Regions from separate parts of the Homo sapiens genome. Here region 1 is linked to region 2. Evidence: promoter capture Hi-C in human tissues and cell types (Jung and others, 2019). All regions are on one chromosome and are shown on one strand. The core of a region is centred on a gene start or on the middle of the fragment in contact, and the rest is flanking DNA. Distances in the headings are between cores, read along the strand shown.

The links. Contacts are between HindIII fragments. The study calls those that stand out against the background at their distance.
Region 1: a fragment that was not itself captured here is called in contact with the fragment with the promoter of RUSC1 in region 2 in 1 of the 25 tissues and cell types used here (dorsolateral prefrontal cortex).

Annotation. Positions count from the first base shown.
Region 1 is chr1:155,613,907-155,620,346 of GRCh38, forward strand. MSTO1 (misato mitochondrial distribution and morphology regulator 1) reads left to right here. Exons shown (of 14, transcript NM_018116.4): 14 at 153-1,045. The coding sequence ends at 367. It also overlaps the pseudogene LOC100419798. Among named protein-coding and RNA genes, the nearest start is that of MSTO1, 6.9 kb to the left of the region's middle. The HindIII fragment of the contact is 7,084 bases long and covers 1-5,127 here.
Region 2 is chr1:155,319,515-155,326,031 of GRCh38, forward strand. RUSC1 (RUN and SH3 domain containing 1) reads left to right here and starts at 1,380. Exons shown (of 10, transcript NM_001105203.2): 1 at 1,380-1,477; 2 at 2,174-3,616; 3 at 5,331-5,429; 4 at 5,588-5,664; 5 at 5,802-5,976; 6 at 6,053-6,158; 7 at 6,350-6,396. The coding sequence starts at 2,260. It overlaps FDPS (farnesyl diphosphate synthase), which reads left to right. Exons shown (of 11, transcript NM_002004.4): 9 at 97-174; 10 at 280-414; 11 at 895-1,151. The coding sequence ends at 1,095. It overlaps RUSC1-AS1 (RUSC1 antisense RNA 1), which reads right to left and starts at 4,662. Exons shown (of 6, transcript NR_145424.1): 1 at 4,564-4,662; 2 at 2,729-2,923; 3 at 2,111-2,181; 4 at 289-418. RefSeq lists silencers at 1,322-1,471, 3,452-3,691, 3,982-4,211, 4,252-4,451, 4,792-5,161 and 1 more and enhancers at 2,087-3,070, 5,242-5,451. The HindIII fragment of the contact is 15,399 bases long and covers 999-6,517 here.

The DNA.
Region 1 (6,440 bases), core at 336-2,835, 290 kb after region 2:
CTCTGGAGTACTGGTGTACTAAGGGGACAATACACCAAATTTGTTGAGTTTACAATCAAGTCTACTAAGGTTGGACTTCCTTATCAGTTTGGCAGAGTCCCAGGGCAGAATAATCATCCATCTACAGGTCTCTGTTTCCTCTCCCTCCACAGCAGTGGAGAGCATCCCAGTGTTTGGGGCACTGTGTTCCTCTTCGTCCCTGCACCAGACCCTGGAAGCCTTGGCCAGAGACCTCACCAAACTCGACTTGCGGCGCTGGGCCAGCTTCATGGATGCTGGAGTGGAGCACGATGACGTAGCAGAGCTGCTGCAGGAGCTACAAAGCCTGGCCCAGTGCTACCAGGGTGGTGACAGCCTCGTGGACTAAAGTTCCCAGTGTGGGAGAAAGGAGCTAGTTTGCAATAAAAACAGCTGGATGCAGGAGCCCAGTGTCTTCATGCAGAGGAGCTCAATGTCGCGGGACTAGCTACACCAACATATGCACTTTTTACATTTAGAAACACTGTGATTAGACCACAGAACAATAAATATGTGCCATCAGACCAAAAAAAAGTAGAGAAAGGAGCTGAACTCCACTCTCGATGCTACTTACAGAGGACATCTGTAAAGTCTTCATAAAAGACCTTGAATGATGCCTAGGATGGCAGAGCCCCTGGGTCCTACTCCATCCTCCAGCCTTTGTCCTTGTCCTGGCCTCCTGCTCTCCAGATCTGTAAACTGGGCTCAAGGACTGTACAAGCAGAGTACAACTACCCGCCTCCCCGGTGCCAGGGCGCCTGTTGGGTTTGGTCCTGTGTAGATGATTCCCAGAGTCTCATTCATCCAGCTCCTCTTCAGACAGAAGGTCCCCATGGTCAGACAGCTGGTCTGCATTGCTGGTACTGGTTGCATCATCCTCATCCTCAGAGCTGGCTTCACAGGCAGTGTGGAAGAGCTGCATGAGTTCTCGAAAATGGTGGGAAACCTAAGAAAGGAGGAGGGCTGTATTCACTGATCCTTAGTAACATGTTAACATTTATGAAGCACTATATATTGATTTGCAAAATCTTTTGTTTATTCCACACAGCAAGGTTGAGAGAGCTATGTCACTATAGATAAGGAAACTCAAGAGGCTAAATGTTTTGCCCAAAGTCACACGACTCCTAAAAACAAAACTAGAATGGCCGGGCACAGTGGCTCACACCTGTAATCCCAGCACTTTGGGAGGCCGAGGCAGGTAGATCACTTGAGGTCAGGAGTTCGAGACCAGCCTGGCCAACATGGTGAAGCCCTATCTCTACTAAAAATAGAAAAATTGGCTGGGTGGTGGGCACCTGTAATCCCAGCCACTCGAGAGGCTGAGGCAGGAGAATTGCTTGAACCTGGGACGTGGAGGTTGCAGTGAGCCACGATCATGCCACTGCACTCCAGCCTGGGCGACAGAGCAAGACTCTGGCTCAAAAAAAAAAAAAAAGCTAGAATGGAAACGGGCTTCCACCTAAAAATGCAGTGTCCTTTCTCTTCTCCTAGAACCACTACCACCCTGATGAGTCAAGCCTTTCCTTAGATCAAACCTTTACAAAAACCACTTATCTTGGATATGAAAACTCCTTCTTTGGCCTTTCTGTCTCTTAGTTGGCCACCTTGACCTCTTTTTGCCAGGTCTTCACCCCAACCCGCACCTACCTCAGCAGGGGTCTTATTTCCCAGCTGCTGGGAGATGATGCTGAAGGTCTGTGGCTGTGCCCCTTGCTCCTGGCACATGGTGAGGATCACACGGTCAGCTTCCCTGTAACCCAGGTATCATGATTAACCCTAGGGAGCCACATGGATGTGGTCTATGCTCTTTTCCAAACACACATCATCCACCCTTACCTACCTTGTCCACAGGACAACCTTTTCCCCAGTGGAGCTGACCTTGCTGTTATTGGCACACACCGTAGCTTCTGTGGCCTTTGGCTGCTGTTCCCCCTCTGGACCCTTGCCCTGTGTTCCACTGTCTTTAGCCAAACCCCCTCTAGGGGCTTTGGGAGAAGTCTCTGAGGTGTCAATTCCTGATGGAGATTCATGGACAGGGCACGTCCTGTCTCTTGTCTTCACCCTAGCTCTGCTTGAGGGCAGCCATCTCTCTTGAGTGTCTGGTTTCCCGGACACATGTCTTCTCCCTGCATCTCTGGTCTTTGAGGAAACAGGACTCAGGAAGGAAGCAGGGGGTTCCACGGTACCAGGCAATTTCTCAGTTTCTGATGCATCCCAGACCAGCATCAAAGCCTCTGACTCACTCACTGCCTTTTGGCCCTCCCTCTCTTTCTGAAGTCTGGGGGATGCCTTGGGGCAGGAGCGAACCTCAGGCCCAACCTGGTTTCTCTTAACAGTGTACAGTACAGCTCCAGTTGTGGGGGGAAATTGAGGAGTCTCTGGTGAATGAGGTGGTGGGCCATCCAGGAGGAGCCGTTCTGTAAGAGTCACTTCTCGAGGGGATGGCAAAGTGCCCCCCACTGCCAATCCTGCTTAGGAGGAAAATAAGGATCCCAGGGTACTGTGAGGATCAAGATGCACCTAAGCACGAGAAATTACCTGTGGCCAGGTACTGTGCAAAAATTCTAATAAAAAAGAGTGCTGGGCATGGTGGCTCACACCTATAACGTCCGCACTTTGGGAAGCCAAAGTGGTGGGACTGCCAGGAGTTTGAGACTAGCCTGGGCAATATGGTGAGACCCCATCTCTGCAAGAAAATATAAATAATAAAGGAGTTGGGTGGAGATGGTGGGCATAATGTCACTTATGCAAAGATATAAAGTCCTACTGCCAAAGCTGAGAACGGCCCAGTCTTTAGGATGTAGATTACACTAGATTTAGAGATGGGGGAAGGGTTTTAGGAATAAAACACAAGACAATGTTGAATCATGTGAAATTTGTAGCACTTTTTTTTTTTTTTTTGAGAGATTTTTGGTCTTGTTGCCCAGGCTGGAGTACAGTAGCGTGATCTCAGGTCATGGCAACCTCCGCCTCCGGGGTTCAAGGGATTCTCCTGCCTCAGCCTCCCAAGTAGGTGGGATTATAGGTGCCCACCACCGGGCCCAGCTATTTTTTTTTTTTTTTGTATTTTTAATAGAGATGGGGTTTCACCATGTTGGCCAGGCTGGTCTTGAATTCCTGACCTCAGGTGATCCACCCACCTCGGCCTCCCAAAGTGTTGGGATTACAGGCGTGAGCCACTGCGCCCGGCCACACACTCTTAATTCTGCAAGAGGAGTGAGGCCATAGGATAGAAAAAGCCTGAACAGGAGAAGGGCTTCTTATGGGTCCATCAGTGAAAGAGGTGGTATGTCCATCCCTGAAAAGGGTGTTATTTATCCAGGCTCATGGAGGTTCCTGTCTGGGGTATAGAAGAACGAGACTGAAAAACAGAAGGGCTGGGTTGGCAGATCACTCACCTGAAATAGGCATCTCTCTTTCTGGTGGTCCTGACAGTCCTGTTCTGGGTGGCTTCATGGGGCTCCTTGCTCTTGTAGGATTTGCTGTCACAGACCCACAGGGATGATCTTCTGGGTCAAAGGTGTCCTGACCGCCTATGCCTTTGGGGCCCACCAAAGGAAGAAGCCCTGCCTGATGCTCACCAAGTCAACCCACATGCATATCTGCTCCAACAATTTTGTTTTTTTAAGAGAAAGGGTTTCAGTTGGGTGCAATGGTACATGCCTGTAAACCCAGCTACTTGGGAGGCTGAGGTGTGAGGATCACTTGAGCCCAAGGGTTCAAGATCAGCCTGGGCAACATAGCGAGACCCTGTCTCAAAAAGAAACAAACAAAAAGAGGCCAGGTGTGGTGGCTTACACCTGTAATCCCAGTACTTTGGAGGCCGAGGGCAGGGATCACTTGAGGTCAGGAGTTCCAGATTAGCCTAGTGAACATGGTGAAACCCCATCTCTACTAAAAATACAAAAATTAGCGGAATGTTGTGGCGGGGGCCTGTAGTCTCAGCTACTTGGGAAGCTGAGGCATGAGAATTGCTTGAACCCAGGAGGCAGAGGTTACAGTGAGCTGAGATTGTGCCACTACACTCCAGGCTGGACGAAAGTGAGACTCCACCTCAAAAAAAAAAAAAAAAAGAGACAAGGTCTCACAGATAACACAAATTATCTTGCCCAGGTTGGAGTGCAGTGCCTGTTTACACAGGTATGACCATAGTGGTACACTATAGCCTCAGACTCCTGGGCTCAAGTAGTGATCTTCTGGTGTGAGCCTCCTGAGTGCCCCTTTGCCTAGCTACTGCTCCAAAGATTTTATTTTGTTTTATTTATTTATGTATTTATTTATATATTTATTTTTTTAGCTGGAGTTTCGCTCATGTTGCACAGGCTGGAGTGCAACGGTGCGATCTCCACTCACCGCAACCTCTGCCTCCCAGGTTCAAGCGATTCTCCTGCCTCAGCCTCCCGAGTAGCTGGGATTACAGGCATGCACCACCATGCCCAGCTAATTTTGTATTTTTAATAGAGACAGGGTTTCTCCATGTTGTTCAGGCTGGTCTCCAACTCCCAACCTCAGGTGATCTGCCTCCCAAAGTGTTCAGATTACAGGTGTGAGCCACCACATCCGGCCAGGGGAAGGGTATTAATACTGGATTTGATTCCTAATGATTCCACTCTCCACTCCACCCTACTGATCTCCAGCTAGGGCACTATTCCAAGCAGAGCAAGGAGGTAAGGCCCCTCCCAGGTCCCAGAACCTCCTTCGCTGAACATCCCTTCCAGCACATCCATGGCATTCCTGAGCCTGTGAAGATCAGACAGGCTCCGGTTTCAGGTAGCAATCCCTCCCTATCCCAGTGCTTTATGCTTTGGGTGAGCCTGAAAAGTCCTTGCCTTTTTCATCTCCTCCAGGAAGCCCATGAGCCTCCAGAGGCAAAAAGGTATGGAGTAGGTTGGGGAAAGAGACAAGGGAAAGGCCTAAGGCCCGGAAGACAACAGGAAGAAAGCAGGACAGGAAAGAATACCTCGGTGATCTCCTGGGGAAGGCAGTCTGCACAGCCTTGGAGGACCTTGATAATCTTCTGGTGGTGTGAGGGGTTCTCTGCAAAGCAAATCTCCAGCTGCCGAAGGAACTTGCGGCTCTTCTCAAAAGCCTGCTGCTCCTCAAACTACCAGAGTGGAAAGTGGGCAAAAGAGGAGTCATGATACAGCTAGAGCAGGACTTGAGGGTTCTAAGGATAAGAACTAGTGGACTAGGACACAAGAGATGACAGAACCCTGGTTTAAAATTCTAGTTTACAACTATTGAGATCTAATTTAAAACCCTAACCTCCATCCACCTTGGGCCACTGGTGGGTAGCCACCCAAAGCAATTAAGATGTGAGCAACAGCTTCAAGAGATGTATATATTTCATGTTGTTTGCTGTATTATGGATGTGAAATGAGACACTCAAACTCATGTAATACTTTAGAGCTTACATTACGAAGAATTTTCAGGCCTTGCAAGGTGGCTCATGCCTGTAATCCCACCATTTGGGAGGCCAAAGCAGGAGGATCGTTTAAAGCCAGGAGTTTAGCCGGGTGCGGTGGCTCATGCCTGTAATCCCAGCACTTTGAGAGGCCAAGGTGGGTGGATCATGAGGTCAGTGGTTCGAGACCAGCCTGGCCAAGATGGTGAAACCCCGTCTCTACTAAAAAATACAAAAAAATTAGCTGGGCGCGGTGGCAGGTGCCTGTAATCCCAGCTACTCAGAAGGCTGGGGCAGGAGAATCACTTGAACCCGAGAGGTGGAGGTTGCAGTGAGCTGAGATCACACCACTGCACTCTAGCCTGGGTGACAGAGCAAGACTCCATCTCAAAAAAAAAAAAAAAAAAGCCAGGAGTTCAAGACCAGCGTGGGCAACATAGCGAGACTCCATCTCTACAAAAAAACTTAAAAATTAGGCAGATGTTGTGGTGTGCACCTGTAGCCCCAGCTATTTGGGAGGCTGAGTCAGGAGGATCCCTGGGGCCTGTGTTGCCCAGGCTGGTCTCAAACTCCTGGCTACAAGGGATTCTCCCACCTCAGCCTCCTGGAGTGCTGGGATTACAGGTGTGAGCCACGTGCATGGCCGAGACACTGTCTCTCTCTTTTTTTTTGGGGGGGGGGGGACAAGTTCTTGCCCTTGTCACCCAGGCTGGAGTGTTAGTGGAGGAATCATGGCTCAGTGAAGCCTCAATCTCCCAGGCTCAAGCAGTCTTCCCACCTCAGCCTCCCAAGTAGCTGGGACCACAGGTGTGCACCACCACACTCAGCTAATCTTTTTATTTTTTGTAGAGGCGGGGTTTTGCTATGTTGTCCAGGCTGGCCTTGAAACCCTGAGCTCAAGCCATCCATCGGCCTTGGCCTCCCAAAATGCTGGGATTTCAGGTGTGAGCCAAAATACCCGGCTGACATTATCTCTTTATTTTTATTTTGTTATTTTTTATTTATTTTTTTGACATGG
Region 2 (6,517 bases), core at 130-2,629:
TTGGGGCTGCAGTAGGGCAAGACCCCATGGGAGGAAGCAGCCAGGAAGATGCCGGCACCCCTGGGGTTTGGCTTATTAACCCCCCTTTCCCTGCAGGCAGGAATTGATGGCGAGAAGGAGCACGCCAATGCCAAGAAGATCCTGCTGGAGATGGGGGAGTTCTTTCAGATTCAGGTAAGAAGGCAGGAGGCAGTAGCAGAGAACAGGCACCAGCTTCACTCCTCCTCTGCCCAGGAACCTCATCCTTCCTCTTTTGCTGCCCTCCCCCTCCCTGCCCAGGATGATTACCTTGACCTCTTTGGGGACCCCAGTGTGACCGGCAAAATTGGCACTGACATCCAGGACAACAAATGCAGCTGGCTGGTGGTTCAGTGTCTGCAACGGGCCACTCCAGAACAGTACCAGATCCTGAAGGTGCCTGAGAGAGGGTGGTGGGTCCCTGAGTTGGTGGAAAGGGATAGAGCAGTGGTTCTCAACTAGAGGCAGTTTTCCTCCCGAGGGGACATTTGGCAATGTCAGCAGACATTTTTTGCCATTGTCATTACAACTCTGTGTGTGTGCATGTGGTACAGACATCTAGTTGGCAGGAGCCAAAGATGTTGCCAAACATGTAGTACACAGAACAGCTCCCCCAGACAGGATTATCTGGTCCCAAATTTCAATAGTGCCAAGGTGGAGAAACCCTGGAGTAGAGGATGCCTGGTATGAGGCAATATTTGGGATAGGGAAGGGAAGCTTGGGATTTTAGCTACGTAGAGACACTTGAAAATTGGAGGGAGGAAAGGAGTGGGTGGCTTTGGAGATGTTCTGGAATATGTGAATGAGGGGAGTGGAGGGGTCCTGGAGGCTCTGGGGAAGGCCAAGCCCGTTTTCCTGTCTTTCAACCTCTTCCAGGAAAATTACGGGCAGAAGGAGGCTGAGAAAGTGGCCCGGGTGAAGGCGCTATATGAGGAGCTGGATCTGCCAGCAGTGTTCTTGCAATATGAGGAAGACAGTTACAGCCACATTATGGCTCTCATTGAACAGTACGCAGCACCCCTGCCCCCAGCCGTCTTTCTGGGGCTTGCGCGCAAAATCTACAAGCGGAGAAAGTGACCTAGAGATTGCAAGGGCGGGGAGAGGAGGCTCTCAATAAATAATCGTGTAACCTTCTTGTGGTTCTGTTCTTGCTCGGCCCAGCCAGAGTCTGGCTCTTTCCAGAATGTGCAGGGTGGGGTGCTGGGAGGACTCGCTGCACGGAACCAGGACCCAGGGGCCAAAAGCTTAGGATATATCAAACCCTCTAGGTGGGTGACAAAAGACGCTAAACGCTGGGGGCGGGTCTGAGCTACGCCACGCCCATGCGCGAAGGGGTGCAGCTGCGCAGCGCAGGGTAGGTTGTGCTAGTGCCCCTCCCCTCCCGCTCTGTGCCCCGCCGGGCGGGGACCGTGGGAGCCGCGGACAAGCCCAAGGCCGGAGCGGTTCCAGGAGGACCCTGGTGAGGAGGGCTCGGCCCATGGGTGTAGACCGATGGACCTGGGCACGAGGGGCGGGGCAGGACAAGGGAGCAGGAGAAATGAATAGAGAAAGGGTGCGGTGGTGGCTGAACGATGGAGACGAATGCGGAGAGAATGGACATACCGCTGTTCCGAGGGGCGAGGGCGCAGGCTGGAGCCCGGCCGAGGCAGCCAGCAGATGCGGAGTTGACAAGCTGACGGCTGCTCCATCCTTTTCCTCTCCAGCCCCCACCCCTTTCCTGCATTCACCAGACAAACTCTGCGTATTGCCCCACCCCCATCCTCCACCTCCTTTCAGGGCATCTGGGTGGGTCTCCCTGGGTCCCTTCCTCTGGGAGTAAGGGGTAGGCTGGAGGGCAGGGCCAGATTGCGGCAGCAGGGACCTGGAGGTCCATTCTGGGCCCGGACCTCTTCCAGGCCCCCGCCCCCCTTCGGAGATCCAGAGCGCAGCCGCGTTCTCTGACCCTCCCGGCTCCATTCCCGGGGGGTTACATTCGACTCCATCTGCAAACACTGCAGTGGAAACTAATGGTCAGTCGATTGCGATTTGCATCTCATTGAAATATCTTCCAAAGCAGCCAGAGCCTTCAGGCCTGCTGCTGCCGTCAAGTCACCTCGGTGTCCTTCCCCGCAGCTCTTGTCCTCACTGGCCGGGCTTCACCACCTCTGTCTTCTAGGTCTGCACCTGTGGTTGCCAGGTAGGTGGATGTGAGAGACCCTACCCTTCTGGTTCTCTAGAAGCCATCCCATCGCCGCTAGCATCATGCTGTCCCCTCAGAGAGCTTTACTCTGCAACCTCAACCACATCCACCTCCAGCACGTCTCCCTGGGCCTGCACTTGTCCCGCCGTCCTGAGCTACAGGAGGGGCCTTTGAGCACACCCCCTCCTCCAGGAGACACTGGGGGCAAGGAGAGCAGGGGCCCCTGCAGTGGCACCCTGGTGGACGCCAATTCCAACAGCCCAGCTGTGCCCTGCCGGTGCTGCCAGGAGCACGGTCCGGGCCTAGAAAACCGGCAGGACCCGTCACAGGAGGAAGAGGGGGCTGCCTCTCCCTCAGACCCAGGCTGCTCCTCCTCACTCAGCTCCTGCTCAGATCTTAGCCCCGATGAGTCCCCTGTCTCAGTCTACTTGCGGGACCTCCCTGGTGATGAGGATGCCCACCCTCAGCCCAGTATCATCCCCCTGGAGCAGGGCTCCCCACTGGCTTCAGCAGGCCCTGGCACCTGCTCACCGGACAGCTTCTGCTGCTCTCCTGATTCCTGCTCCGGAGCTTCTTCTTCACCCGATCCTGGCCTGGACTCGAACTGCAACGCCCTGACCACCTGCCAGGACGTCCCTTCCCCAGGCTTGGAGGAAGAGGACGAGAGGGCGGAGCAGGATCTCCCTACCTCTGAGCTCTTAGAGGCGGATGATGGGAAAATCGACGCTGGGAAAACGGAGCCCAGTTGGAAGATTAACCCAATTTGGAAAATTGACACAGAGAAAACTAAAGCTGAATGGAAAACCACTGAAAACAATAACACTGGTTGGAAAAACAACGGGAATGTTAACTCTAGCTGGAAAAGTGAACCTGAAAAATTCGACTCTGGTTGGAAAACCAACACAAGAATAACTGATTCTGGCTCGAAAACAGATGCAGGGAAAATTGATGGAGGATGGAGAAGTGACGTCAGCGAGGAGCCGGTGCCCCACCGGACAATCACGTCCTTCCACGAGCTGGCCCAGAAGCGCAAGCGGGGCCCAGGGCTGCCCCTTGTCCCGCAGGCGAAGAAAGATCGCAGTGACTGGCTCATAGTCTTCTCGCCCGACACCGAGCTCCCCCCCTCGGGGTCGCCGGGCGGCTCCTCGGCACCTCCTCGGGAAGTCACCACCTTCAAGGAACTCCGGTCCCGAAGCCGGGCCCCAGCCCCGCCAGTCCCGCCTCGAGACCCCCCAGTTGGCTGGGCTTTGGTCCCGCCCCGGCCCCCACCCCCGCCTGTCCCTCCCCGAAGGAAGAAGAACCGACCTGGACTGCAGCCCATAGCGGAGGGGCAGTCCGAGGAGGGCCGGGCTGTCAGCCCAGCGGCTGGCGAGGAGGCCCCAGCCGCGAAGGAGCCGGGCGCGCAGGCCGGCCTGGAGGGTAAGAGGTCGCAAGAAGCGGGAGGAGGGCTGGGCTTCGGCCGCTCACGCCTCCTAGGCTTCCAACCCGGCCCCCTGTCTTCCCTCCATTCTGTGTCACCCATCCTCCCCGCCCCTTCTACCAGGGAGCGCTCCGGGAAAGGGAAACTGGGTGGGTCATTGGGTTATGGGACTAACTGTTTGCTCCCTCTTCTTCCCGCCCCTTCTTGCCTGGCTGCCCATCCCGCTGCCCTCCTTCCCTCTGCGCCTGGCCCCGCCAATCCCGCCTGCAGCCGGTCCCCTCCTGCTCCCTCGGCCCCTGGTTTTCCGGTTCTCGGCCGACGGGCGCCCCCTGTTGGAGGGTGGGGGCGCAGGCGCAGCTGGGTCTCTGCTCCTGGCTCCTCTGGCCGGGTGGCCCGGCGCCGGGCTGCGGCTGCTGGGGGCGCCGAGCCCCCCAGAGGAGCAGCTGCTGCCCGTCCGCCTGTCCCCGGTGGGAGCCTATTCGCCTCCGACTCGGGGAGCCTTGCCCTGCCTGGCCAGCCCCGAGCTGGCACTGCTGCTGTCCCCGCTCTTTCCCAGAAGTAGCACCTTCCCCGCCGCGGCTCCCCCACCCCGCCAGGTACCCGCCCCCCCGCTGCCACCGCAACCTCGTCCGCCGAAGGCCCCTCGCTGGACCAGGAGCCCATCGCCTCCGCCCAGGCTACGTAAGACGGACCCGGGCTAGCCCCGCGGGCCACGCCTCAGGCGGGCCGCCCCGCCCACTCTCGCCCGGCCCCGTTTTCGCTTTTTTTCCGGGGTTGCCCAGCTTAGTCCCGCCCTTCAGTTTAAGCCGACTCCAAGCAAGTTTGTCGGCCTTGGGGAGTCTGGCCCCGTTCCTAGTGCTGGAGGGGGAAGTTGTTGCCTTTCCTGCTCCGTGGGCCGGCCCCCTCTCCCTCCAGACCCACCTGGGCATAGTGGACGCGGGCTTACCCAGCCTCCATGCCAAGTCTAGGGGGTCCCAGCGAGTCTGTTGTTAGGGGCTTTGGGTCACACCCTCTGTGGAATTCCTTGGCCTGTGCAGCTCGGGCCTGCCCCCCGACCTTGCTAGGGAGGGGTGGAGGGTGAAGCTCCCGGGAGCTCATTGGCACTAGAGGTTCTGGCCACGCCCTCTCCGCGAGTCCAGTCCCACGCGGGATGAAGAGGGCACCCTCCGCCAAGAGGCTGCTGCGGGACCCGGGTTTCCCCTTTCCGGCGCCTTCCAGCCTCCCAATCCTCGGGTCTCGCCTCCCTCCGTCTCCTCCCTTTCCCCTGTCTGTCTTTCCATTGGTCCATGCCGCCCACGTGCTCCCCGGGGCTCCGCAGGCAGGACTGGGCCCCGGGGCGGTGCGCTGGGCTACACCTCCCTCCCCGCGCCCCGTCCTCTCCCGCCCTACAGGCCCTAGCAGGGCAGGCGGGAGGTGAGCGCGGCCATCCCGCTCCCGGAGTTCCGGGATCCTGGAGGTGGGGGCTGTGCCCTGAGGGAGGGCACAGGGAACCGGGATGGGGCTGGGGGACAGCGAGTGCTGGGAAGTGTGCGAGATTTCACTCCGGGGCTCGGGTCGAGCTACCCCGTGCTTCAGGCGGTCCTGCGCCTCCTCTCCCCAAGACCCTTCGGGGACACAGCACTGCAGACCCGCCGGAGACAACTTGTGCGGGAGCCCGGAGTCCTCGGAATAACACTTGGTAAGTGTTACCGCGCCCTTCTTCCCTTACGCCAGTCCGTAGTTCGTGGTCCTTCGCCGGTGTCCCCGGAGCCCAGCGGCTGTGGATGGCAGAAGCCCAGAGTGGGACTGGTCAGCTGCAGGAGCAGAAGAAAGGTAGGGCACCCTGACTCCCGACCCCGCGCTTCCGAATAAACTGCCCTTCGCCCCCGGCCCTGCTCTCAGGCTGTCCGAAGGCAGTCTCTCCACGCCCCTCGGGCAAGCCTGGGTAGGGGCGCGGCCTCCTAGCGTCTTCCCTTTCCCACTCCTCCCAGGTCTTCTGATAGCCGTCAGCGTCTCCGTTGATAAAATCATCTCGCATTTCGGGGCCGCCCGGAACTTGGTGCAGAAGGTGAAGGTGGCTGGGGGGAGGCTGTTGGGATGAGGAGAGTAATGGAGCTCCGCGGGGGGTGCGGGAATGGTTGGCGGGAGGTGGCTGGGAGGTGTCTGGAGGGATCTCTGGAGCCATCGGCATCGCGCCACCTCCAGGCCCAGTTGGGTGATAGCCGGCTGAGCCCGGATGTGGGGCACCTGGTGCTGACCACCCTCTGCCCGGCCCTCCACGCCCTGGTGGCGGACGGGCTGAAGCCTTTCCGGAAGGACCTCATCACCGGGCAGCGCAGGAGCAGCCCCTGGAGCGTGGTGGAGGCGTCGGTGAAGCCAGGTGAGCCAGGAGGGCGTGGGACCCGGCAGTGCGCAGGGCAGGGCCGGGCTTGGCTGACTGCACCCCACGTTCTCAGGCTCCAGCACCCGCTCCCTTGGAACCCTGTATAGCCAGGTCAGCCGTCTAGCCCCGCTGAGCAGCAGCCGTAGCCGCTTCCATGCCTTTATCCTGGGCCTCCTCAAGTGAGTTGCCTTCTTTCCAGTGCCCTTCCCACGACCTGGGACTGCAGGAGCGTCATGGGTGGGACACAGTAGTAGTGCCTCACATCCCCAGAGAAGGCCCCCCCTCTTCCAATCTCATCTCCCATCCTCCACCCAGAGAGGACTGGAGTCCTCCACCTCCCTGAACTTCCATTCCCTCTTTTCTCCCCTAGCACCAAGCAGTTGGAGCTGTGGTTTTCCAGTCTCCAGGAAGATGCAGGTCAGAGGTTCAGATGGTAGAGGATGGGGCTGATGGGCTGGGAGGATGGGAAGGAAAGAGTTCTCTCCTGCTGGTTCCCACTGCTGCCAGAATGCCATTAATCCAGATCTCCGATCTTATT